Linked DNA regions of Homo sapiens: region 2 is linked to region 1. The links are contacts of gene promoters, found by promoter capture Hi-C in human tissues and cell types (Jung and others, 2019). All regions are on one chromosome and are shown on one strand. Each heading gives the region's core, a stretch centred on a gene start or on the middle of the fragment in contact. The rest is flanking DNA. Distances are from core to core; before and after follow the strand shown.

The links. Contacts are between HindIII fragments. The study calls those that stand out against the background at their distance.
Region 2: a fragment that was not itself captured here is called in contact with the fragment with the promoter of EEFSEC in region 1 in 2 of the 25 tissues and cell types used here (H1 embryonic stem cells and liver).

What each region holds. Positions count from the first base shown.
Region 1 is chr3:128,149,111-128,154,959 of GRCh38, reverse strand. EEFSEC (eukaryotic elongation factor, selenocysteine-tRNA specific) reads right to left here and starts at 1,479. Exons shown (of 7, transcript NM_021937.5): 1 at 1,137-1,479. The coding sequence starts at 1,452. It also overlaps a transcript of RUVBL1 not described here. RefSeq lists a silencer at 969-1,488 and an enhancer at 1,619-1,848. The HindIII fragment of the contact is 4,118 bases long and covers 1-1,866 here.
Region 2 is chr3:128,113,750-128,119,524 of GRCh38, reverse strand. RUVBL1 (RuvB like AAA ATPase 1) reads left to right here. Exons shown (of 11, transcript NM_003707.3): 2 at 111-197. Among named protein-coding and RNA genes, the nearest start is that of RUVBL1, 7.2 kb to the left of the region's middle. The HindIII fragment of the contact is 4,437 bases long and covers 2,104-5,775 here.

The DNA.
Region 1 (5,849 bases), core at 230-2,729:
TGGTACCTCTTTGTGGGGCATTTTGGCAGTACCCACCACGACCGAAAACACACATGCCCCTTGCCCCAGCCAGTTATTATCTATTATCCTACATATATGCGAACATACCAAAGAGTTCTGTTCTAGAATATTCACTGCAAAATGGTTTGTAAATACTGGAAACAGCATAAACGTCCATCATTAAAAGATTTGTTCAGAAAATGTTGGTACAGGCCGGACGTGGTGGCTCACGCCTGTAATCCCAGGACTTTGGGAGGCCAGGGCGGGCGGGTCATGAAGTCAGGAGTTTGAGACCAGCCTGACCAACATGGTGAAACCCGTCTCTACTGAAAATACAAAAAAATTAGCCGGGCGTGGTGGCGCGCGCCTGTAATCCCAGCTACTCAGGAGACTGAGGCAGGACAATCGCTTGAACCCAGGAGGCGGAAGTTGCAGTGAGCCGAGATCGTGCCACTGCACTCCAGGCTGGGCGACAGAACAAGACTCTGTCTCAAAAAGAAAAAAAAAAAAAGAAAAAGAAAATGTTGGTACAAGGGTGCAGTTGAATTCTATGTGAGCTTTAAAAAGAATGATGTAGCTTTGTGTACAGATATGGGGCACTCTCCAGACACAATGTTGAGTGAAATCGTGTCTAAAAGGATGAGGGAAAGAGGGATTTATACATACACACAGATATGCTTGTATTGACGTGGAGCCTTTCTGAAATGATATACAAAAACTGGTAGCAGCGGTTGGCTCTAGGAACGGGAATCAGACCAAATGACAGGTGAATGAAGACAGCCTTTGTATGTATACCCTTTTTGTAGCTTGTGAGTTTTCTTATTTTGAGTTTTCTTTACTTGACCATGTATTATAAACACATTTGGTAGGGATTTTTTGATTTTTTTTTTTTTTTTTTTTTAAGGAAGGCGCCTTGCAGCTCGGTTCTGCTGGATGGGAAAAGCTGAATCTCAAAGCCTCCGCTCACTTGCTGCGGAGCCCTAGGCAAGTCACGTCCGCCTCTTGGGGCGTCAGGAGCCCCACCAATGAGGTGGGGCGATTTCCCGTCCCGGCAAAGGCTCGAGCGAATTCGGACACGGGGCCCGGTCGCTCCGCCCGCGTCCCTGAGCCCGGCTCCCGCCCCGGCCCGCGCTCACCGCCGATGATGGTCCGGATGAGGGAGGCGTGCCCGGGGCAGTCGACCAGCGTGACCTGAAGCAGTGGCTCGCCGGGCTCGGGCTCGGCCTCGGGCGCTGCCTGGAACTCGGGCAAAGACGACCGCAGGCGCGCGGGCAGCGGCACCGAGAAGCACGAGAAGCCCAGATCGAGCGTGATGCCGCGCTCGCGGCTCTGCGGCTGCTTGTCAAAGGCGGCGGTGGAGGCTGTGGTGCTTAGCGCCCGCGCCAGCGCCGTCTTGCCGCTGTCGATGTGGCCCAGCACGCCCACGTTCACGTTCACCCGCCGCCCTGCCATGCCGCCGCCGCCGCCTCGGACACCCGCCCGGCCCGCCCCTCACCTCCCTCGGTAGTCGCCGCGGTCCGGCCCGTTAAGTTGCCCCCCCGTAACCGGCGCGCTGTGCACACCCGTTCCGGCCCGGAAGCTTCCGCCCTCCTGAGGCTCACGGGCACAGCCGAGCGCCGTGCTCCGAGTGGGTGGTCTAGGAACTGGAGGTCACCGTAGGCAGGGTTTCTCTCTCACGTGGCTCCTCCTGCCTGAAGCCTCTAGGAGCCCGAGATGGAGGGATCCTTCTGAGAAGTGAAGCCATTTGGACTTTCTGGGTGAGTGGAGACTTGGAGAACTTTTCTATAGCTATCAAGAGGATTGTAAAATGCACCAATCAGCGCTCTGTAAAACGCACCAATCAGTGCTCTGTAACATGCACCAATCAGCAGGATCCTAAAAGAAGCCAATCACAGGGAGGATTGAAAAAAGGGCGCTCTGATAGGACAAAAACGGAACATGGGGGGGCGAAGGGGGGCGGGGGGGGCGGGGTGGGCGGGGGGAAGACGGGGGCGGGGGGGGCGGGAAGACGGGGGCGGGGGGGAGGGCGGGGGGACGGCGGGGGGCGGGGGAGGGCGGGGGGACGTGGGGGAGGGGGCAAATAAGGGAATAAAAGCTGGCCACCCCCGCCAGCAGCAGCAACCCTCTCAGGTGCCCTTTCGCATTGCAGAAGCTTTTTGCTCTTCACAATAAATCTTGCTGCTGCTCACTCTTTGGGACTGTGCCATCTTTAAGAGCTTTAACACTCACTGCGAAGGTCCGCGGCTCCATTCTTGAAGTCAGCGAGACTAGGAACCCACTGGAAGAAACCAACTCCGGACACACTTCCAATCATTCATACATTTCAGCAAGATCTTACCAAGTGCCTGGTGGGTTCCGCTGGGCTACAGTGCCCGCTAATATTACATTCAGGGGGTGAGGGCTAAGTCAAACAATACAGCCTGAACCAGACCATTTCAGAGAGCGAGAAGTCTCCTAGGGAAAATAAAAGCTGAGATAAAAAGGAGCAGGAGAGGGAGGATGGACAGCTACCTAACTGTGGGTCAGGGAAGACATCTAGGAGTTGCTGTTTGAGTTGAAACTCCAGTGTTGAGAAGGAGCCAACCATGGGAAAAGATGGTTTGAAGATGGAAGAGGACAACATTATCTCTGACTCAGAAATTCTCACCCTGAGAGTCTGTAGCCTGGGCTTAGGAGAGGCCACAAACCTCTAAATTGAACGCACAATGTGTTGTGATGTGCTCTTGCTAGACAGAGGGTCGACAACTCTCACTAGATTCTGAAGTGTCTAGAACCACAAAAAAGGTTGTCAGCCATAGTCACCAACCAGAGGTAACAAACCTAAGTGTCTGCTCTGGCCAGGTGGTGGGTAAATCAAAGAAGAGAAGTTAAAAGAGTCTAAGATGACAGGGAGTGGTGGGGACCTGGGAGACCTGGAGAGCCCTTTTCCTGTGCAAAGAGGGAAGCCACTGCTCAGTCTCAGCCAGTGATACCAGGCAGGAATGCTAGCCCAACATTGCCTCCTCCTTCCATTTTTCTGGAGAAGAGAGTGTTTTTGTAACACTGTGGCGGTGGAGCACAAAGTTCACAGGATCTTACCTTTGCCCTCTGTGATGAGCCAGACCATGTGCGGATGTATTCATGCTTGCAGTAACTGCCTCCTTCGTTCCACCACTCTCCACTAGGAACAGAGTCCATGTCATAGACTGAATTGTGTCCCTCTCAAATTCATATGTGGACACCCTGACCCCCAGTGTGATAGTATTTGGAGATGGGACGTTTGGGAGGTTAGATGAGATCATGAGAGCGGGCCCTTGTGATGGGATTAGGGTCCTTACAAGAAGAGAACAGAATCTTTGTTTCCGTTTTCCCACCTTGCAAATAGGAAACTGTAAAAATACGCCTCCCATTAAAAAAAATCTAGTAGTAAAAGCAGTAAACGTATTTAAAAGGGAGGGTTAGTAAATAGGTAATAAGAGCTTTAGAGGCTTTATGTACCTCTGAGAAATATTTCAACTAACAAAGACTTTGTACAGGGCCTGGCTTCAAATAAACCTCATTTCTTACCTCTGTTTTAAACAGAATCCTGAAATGGTAATGAAAAGAAAAAAGGTTTGGCTGGGCACGGTGGTTCATGCCTGTAATCCCAGCACTTTGGGAGGCTGAGGCAGGCAGATCACTTGATATAGTTTATATATCTATATATAGAATATATATAGATTTTATATATAGATATATAGAGTATATATATATAGAATATATACAGTGTATATATAGAATATATAGAGTATATATAGAATGTATATAGAGTATATATAGAATATATATAGAATATATAGAATATATATAGAATATATATAGAATATATACAGAATATATATAGAATATATAGATATATAGAGAATATATAGAGAACATATAATATATATAGAATATATAGAATATAGAATATATATTATATATATAATATATAATATAATATATATAATATATATAGAATATATAATATATAATATATAGAATATATAATATATATAATATATAGAATATATTATATATATAATATAGAATATTATATTATATATATAGAATATATATATAGAATATATATATATAATATATAATATATAGAATATATATAGAATATATAATATATAGAATATATAATATATAGAATATATAATATATAGAATATATATAGAATATATAATATATAGAATATATAGAGAATATATAATATAGAATATATATAGAATATATAATATATAGAATATATATAGAATATATAATATATAGAATATATATAGAATATATGTATAGAATATGTATAGAATATATGTATAGAATATATACATAGAATATATATTCTATTAGTTCTGTCAAATATATATATTCTGTGGAATATATATATGGAATATACATATATACATATGGAACATACATATATACATATGGATGTATATTCCATACAATGGAACATACATATATATATATATAATGGAATATATATACACATATATGGAATATATATACATATATGTATACATATTCCAAGATGGAAGAGGACAACATTATCTCTGACTCAGAAATTCTCACCCTGAGAGTCTGTAGCCTGGGCTTAGGAGATATATATATATTCCATGTATATTCCATTAGTTCTGTCCCTCTAGAGAATCCTGACTAATACAAATCTTCTAACAAATATTCTAACAAATATTGATTGAACACCTGCTGTGTGGCAGACATGATATTTTGGAGGGATACAACTGTGGATGAATAAGGCAAATAATGATGAAGTGCTTTGGGAGAAATAAGGCAGCATGGCTGAGAGTTACTGGTGCAAGGGAGGAGGATGCTTATTAAGGGAGAGGCATTTGAGCTGACAAAGATGCAAGAGAAGGGCCAGGCTGCACAGAACCGAGGGAAATTGATGAAAGAACGTGCTGCACAGAGAAAACAGCAGGCTCAGAGACAGCAGCAACCTAAGCCATGTGGCACGTGGCGAGGTGGGGCTGAAGAGAAGAAGCTGCATGCTAAGCATATCCTGAAAATGTCTTTCAAAGTATGGTTTTAGCCTGGTGGTGTGGCCTTCTGAAGCATCAAAGGCAGAAGCTCTGGAAAGCTGGCCAGAGGCCAAAGCCAGACTTCCCCAGAAAACAGAATCTCACCAATGCTGAGATTGGTGTTACAACATCACCGAAGTCTCCCTCCTTGTGTGGGCTCTGGTTGTGTGGCTGGCCCAAGGGTCTCAGAAACAGATTCCCATGGAGAGAAACCATTGAGACTCACTCCTTCCTCCAGACAGTTGCTCTGGAAGCGTTTCAGGCCCCAGCCTCTTGTTCTTTTGGGCCCCAAGGAAAGTAGTCTTCATGAAAAGGCATGTTCTAGTACCAAGTATTTCTTTTCTATATTGTATGTAGTAGCAAAATATTATAAACAAAGTAAATGTCCTTAAAAAGAATAATTATGGTAAGTTTGAAATTATATCAAGACAAAGGCCAGGCATAGTGGCTTACACCTGTAACCCCAGCACTTTGAGAGGCGAAGGCGGGCAGATCACTTCAGGCCAGAAGTTCAGGACCAGCCTGGCCAACATGGCAAAACCCCGTCTCTACTAAAAGTACAAAAATTAGCCAGGCATGGTGGTGCATGCCTGTAATCCCAACTGCTCGGGAGGCTGAGGCACGAGAATTGCTTGAACCCGGGATGCAGAGGTTGCAGTGAGCCATGATCGCACCACTGCACTCCAGCCTGGGCAACAGAGTCTTGCTCTGTCAAAAAAAAAAAAAAAGAAAGAAAGAAAGAGGAAAGAAGAGAAATTATATCAGATACAAAGCTACCAAAAAGAAAAGAAAGAAAGGAAAGGAAAA
Region 2 (5,775 bases), core at 3,073-5,572, 38 kb after region 1:
TCAGTGTTAGTTGGATGAGTGTGTGACTTGTGTAGGCCAGGGACTGAGATTTTTCCCCTTGTGAAACATTTTAATATTGATTTATTATTTCTTTCCATTGTGGTGTGTAGGCATGTGGCGTCATAGTAGAATTAATCAAAAGCAAGAAAATGGCTGGAAGAGCTGTCTTGTTGGCAGGACCTCCTGGAACTGGCAAGGTACTCATTTTCTCTCATTTTTTAAATCTACCCAGGAGAATGATCCTAGTGTCTAAGCCAAATTGAATTCATGTCTTAACTAGTCTTTGTTTAGCTAAATGGGTTATATGTATGTTTTTAAAATTAATATGCAATAATACAATTGGGTATCTAAAATCCCTGCTTCTAAAATTCAAATTATCCTGGCCTACCTCCAGAGAAGAAAGAATGAAGTCCTTGAAGGGGTCTCATTGTCTCTAGAATTTGTCCTTTTTCTCTTTCAAGTCTCCTTTGCTGTGGAAATACATTTCTGTTGGCCTAGGGCTTCATAAAGATCTTCTGAGTGACATCTTACTTGAGGGGACAAAAAAATGAGTCAAGCATTCTTCCAAATGCTAGCTTTACGCATCGCTATTGTGGCTGTGTGGGAGATGAAAAAAAGGAAAACAAGAATTAGAGACATGATTTTTATCTTCAAGGGGCTTACAGTCTCTCCAGGGCAGAAAGAAAGGAAATCATGACAGCACAGGAGGACTCAGTATGAGTGCTCAGCTTTGAGGTATTGACTAATATTAAATGCAGCTGGAATTTAAGGAGGCAGCACTGTGGGCTGGTACAGCTGGAAGGGTTGAGACTTGACATTTTCCCTTCAGAGCTGGGAGAGGATTTGGCTTTGCAGGGAAGATAAGGGCCTTTCAGGCAGAGGACACCGTGTGGCTTCTTGGGATTCGTGAGGGGACTGGCCAGATACTTGAAACTCACCAGAGTTCCCAATTTGAGCTTGCTTATTCTTCAAAAGGGCCGCTTGATGTGGGCAAGTAGGAGCTTGGGGTTGTGTGTGAAAAGAAATGGGCTTTAAATTCCAGCTCTAGTATTGACTTGCTATGAGACCTGAGGCAGGTCCCTTAACTTTTCTAAGCAAAAGCATACTCTACCTATTTCAAGCAATTATTAAACTGATCGATTGTAAGATAATGACTTGCATTATAATTTTGAAATGATTACTGATTGTGTATCTTATATTGGTATCTTACAAGAGGAAGAAGTGCTATATTTGTGAACAGTTTTTTCTCTTCCTATATAAAAGCAAATTGTGAACAGTTTTTTAAACTGTAAAGTGCCATACAGATGTGAGCTTCAGTTACCTCTCTCCAGGCAACATTAGCTTGTCCAGTGCATTTACCATTTATTTGCTTGCTATTCCTTATATCTTAGACCTTCTCTTTCCCTCCATTTTTCTTCTTCCTAAAGTAAATAATTTAGAAATTTCTTCTAGAAGTTTGTTGGTGGGAAAGTCTCTCACGTTTGCATTCATTATGTTGCCCTTGTTTTGAAAAAGAGCTATGTTGGCTATATAATTCAGTTGACAGATATTTTCTTCAGTACTGTTTCACAGTACTTCTCTCTCAATGTTATTTGCTCCTTTGGCTTCTGTTGTTTTTGAGAAGTCTAATTTTGAGGGTTTTGAGTCTTCTTTCTGCATGTTTTTGAGATATTTTTGGGTTTGGTGTTTCACTATTATATGTCAGAGTGGATTAATTTTTGTTTATCATGCTTAATGCTAATTGTGCTTCTTGAATCTGAGTATTATGTCTCTGCTCAATTCTGGAAAATTGTCAGCCTTAGGAGAATCGCTTGAACCTGGGAGGCAGAGGTATCAGTGAGCCAAGATCATGCCATTGCACTCTAGCCTGGGTGACAGAGCAAGACTACGTCTCAAAAAAAAAAAAAACAAAAAAACTGTCAGCGTTAATCTCTTCAGCTATTGCCTTTCCCCATTCTCTTTGTTCTTTCCTTCTGGAACTCCACTGAGATGAGGTTAAGATTGCAGTGGTTTTCAACCTGGGGCAGTTTTGCCCTTGCAGGGGACTTTGACAACGTCTGGAGACATTTTTGGTTCTCACGACTTGGTTGGGGGTGCTACTGGCATCTAGTGGGTGGAGGCCAGGGATGCTACTAAACATCCTGTAGTGCACAGAGCAGTTTCCATAATAAGGAATTATCTGGCCACAAACGTCATGGAGTCAAGCTGAGAAACCCTGGGCTAGAGCTTCTCGTTTTGTCCTCTTTGTCTTTTAGCCTCTCATATTTGTTATCTTTTTGACTCTGCTAAATTATGGGTAATTTCTTTTAGATCTTTGTTCCAGTCTAATTGTCTCTTAAGCTATGATTAAGTGACTGATTAATCCAATCTATTGAATATTTTTTTCCTTTTCATTTTGAAAAGTTTGGAACCTACAAAAAACTTGAAAGAATAGTGTGATGAGCCCCTCTATACCCTATACCTAGATAGCCAGTTATAAATATTTTGTGACATTTGCTTTTTCTCTAGTTTATTTCTGAACCACTTGACAGTAAGTTGTAAGGATGTCTTCCTACATGACCACGGTGCCATCATCAGACCCACCTTGCTAATGCTATTATATTCCCCCAATTTTTGTCAATTAAAAATTAAATTAATTAATTTTTAAAAAATGAGCAGCAGAGCCAGGGAGAGAATGGTGTCTCAGGAACCAAGAAAGGAGAACCTTTAAAGAAAGGAGTAGGTAACCATATCCACTGTGGTAGAGAAATCACAAAGATGAGGGAGCCTGGCAGCTCATCATATGATTCCATGAGCAGTTAACAAATGTGCTTTCAAAGACAACGAAGTTAAATTGTTTTAATGAAAAGAAAATATAGGTGATAGAAATCAGAAAACATCTTTCCAAGTTGTTTCAGTTTTTGGCTTTTTAAAAAACACCAGAATATCAAAATGCAATCAAAGATTACACACTGCATAAATTGTTACAAGTTATAATGTCTTTTTTTTTTTTTTTTGAGATGAAGTCTCGCTCTCTTGCCCAGGGTGGAGTACAGTGGCGTGATCTTGGCTCACTGCAATCTCTGCCTCCCAGGTTCAAACGATTCTCCTGCCTCAGCCTCCTGGGTAGCTGGGATTACAGGTGCCTGGCTAATTTTTGTATTTTTAGTGGAGATGGGGTTTCATCATGTTGGTCAGGCTGGTCTCGAACTCCTGACTTTAGGTGATCCACCTGCCTTGGCTTCCCAAAGTGCTGGGATTACAGGCGTGAGCCACTGTGCCTGGCCCCCAGATGTATTTTGTTATGGCCCACCTTTTTTACTCATGTGTGGCCCTTCAAGAGTCCTCTTTTATGTTTTTTTTTTAATTGTAATGTTTTTGTTTGTTTGTTTGTTTTTTGAGACAGTTTCAGTCTGTCGCCCAGGCTGGAGTGCAGTGGTCTGTTACCCAGGCTGGAGTGCAGTGATCTCGGCTCACTGCAGTCTCTACCTCTTGGGTTCAGGTGGTCCTCCCACCTCAGCCTCCTGAGTAGCTGGGACTACAGGTGCACACCACCACGCTTTGGCTAATTTTTGTAGTTTTCGTAGAGATGGGGTATCGCCATTTTGCCCAGGCTGGTCTTGAACTCCTGGGCTCAAGCAATCCACCTGCCTCGGCCTCCCAAAGTGCTGGGATTGCAGGCTTGAGCCACCGTGCCCAGTCCCGGTTTTATTCAGGGGTTTCTATCTTAAGTGCTATACCTTGCTGAGCTTTCCTGTATCTACAGTCTCTGAACTTTCAAGGCAAATAGTTTACTGCTCTGAATGTTATTATTTATTCAATTCTAGGTGTTTTGTAAGAGGAGAGGTTTTCAGTGGACCCAGTGTGCCATATTGCTAGAAGCATATGTCTTTCATTTTTTTTGGTGATATTGTATTGCTTTCCTCCCAGGAAATATGAGAAGTGCTCAGCACTGTGGTATTACCTTATAAGTTTGTCCACTCCCTTCCAATGTGTATGAAGGAATTTGGTGACTTCTGCTTAATGGTTTGCTGCAGGGTCCCAAAGTTTAGGCAACTTACCTGGGTGACAGGCAGAAATACTGCTTATTTTAGAGATGCAAATGCATGGTTCATATGCATTTCCACTCTTGAGGACCTCACACTGTTAATAATGGGTTTGGGTTTTAGAAGAAGGAGATATTCAGATGAGATTGAAAAATAGAGATTTCTTCAACCTTCTTTTGGCAACAACCTCTTTTTTGTGCCACTTGTCACTCACATGGGGTGAGTACAAAAAAAAATGGCTTTGGAGATTGGGGTTTGCATCCTGGTGCTGCTGCTTGCGGTTTTACCTTGGGTGTGTTGGTAACTTTTGAGTTTGTTTCTTAATCTATAAAATACAAACTAGATGATCAAGGTCATAGGCTAGTTGGGGAGATTCGATGAGGTCTATGCAGCACTCTGTAGTAGGTGTAGGAATAGTAGCCATATCATATACTTTCCCTCTGGAAGTCTTTAAATGGAGGAAACGAGACACACATGAAGCTTTTTTTTTTTAACCAAGTATTTATCATATTTTAATGGAAGTATGTTCATCTCTTCTGTATTAGTTAAAGGGAGGGAGAGTGCCATTGAATTGGATGTGGTCACTGTCTTTGAAGTTCAAAACTGAGGGTAGGGAATTGGGGCTGGCAGAGATACAAGGAAGAGAAAGGAGTAACTGGGAAGGGGTGGTCCTGTCCAGCCTGTGGCCCCACGGGGAGTCTGCTGTTAGAGTGCTGCTCCTCTCATTGTGCCCTTTCATGTTCCAGAGATTTTTTTCCTTTGCTCTTAGAAGAATACCAGTTTTCAAGGTGTCAGCCTTGAGCTCACAAGTGCAGATGCCTAATGAGGCAGGCAACGGGGATGAGGGAAGTGGCTGGGTGCACTGTGGCGTGTCTGCCTTGAGCCCCAGGTGCTCGGCCTTGCTGAAGGTCACCATGAGACTGCAGGCCAAACAGAACCAGGCTGTGAGCAACGAGTTTGCCACTTGTGATCTAGCATGGCACTTTAGTACTTTCATTTGACAGATGAGGAAATCGGGCACCTGAGATTTGCTGAGTGCCCAAGGTCACACTGAAAATTAGTGGCAGAACCAGCACTAATCTTTCTGTTCCTGGCTAGTGCATTTTATACTGTGCTATACACTGATTCTCTACCAGATTTTACTACCTCAAAACTATCACCAAAAGGGCATAGAAAAGAAAATCTGAGAGGAACCTTGACTGTTAATTTTAAGACACCGTCTCAGTTTCACTTTGTTCTTCAGTAACAAGCTTGTTTTCAGTCTTAGCCCATATACCTGGGGAGCTGGCCTTACTCGTGCTCCTGTTTCAGAGTTGAGGAAAGATGAAAATGGCATTTAGAGGCCATGGCATTGCCCAGTTCTGTACCAACTTTAAAGCATTTGCTTGCCATACTTGACATTTGACCGTACACCTGTGAAGTCTGGTTCTGTTTAGCATTTGCCAGCTGTAATTATCTTGTCAAAAATCAATTTGTAGTTTACCACAGGGCGTGTTTAAGTGTAACTTGTTAAGACCAACTCATAGCTTCAAAATCCTACTTGAGGTATCCTTCTTCACTCTTTGTGGGCTACATAACATAAAATGAACAATCCATTCATTCATTCCTTCATTATTTCTGATGGGTTGTAGATTGGTGTTTTCCTGTATTTGTAAAAAGAGAAAGCAGGTATCTCAAAGATCCAGTGGTGTATTCGGAGCAATTAGGTCAGAGCCATATATTGATATTGAGAGAACAATTTTGGATGACT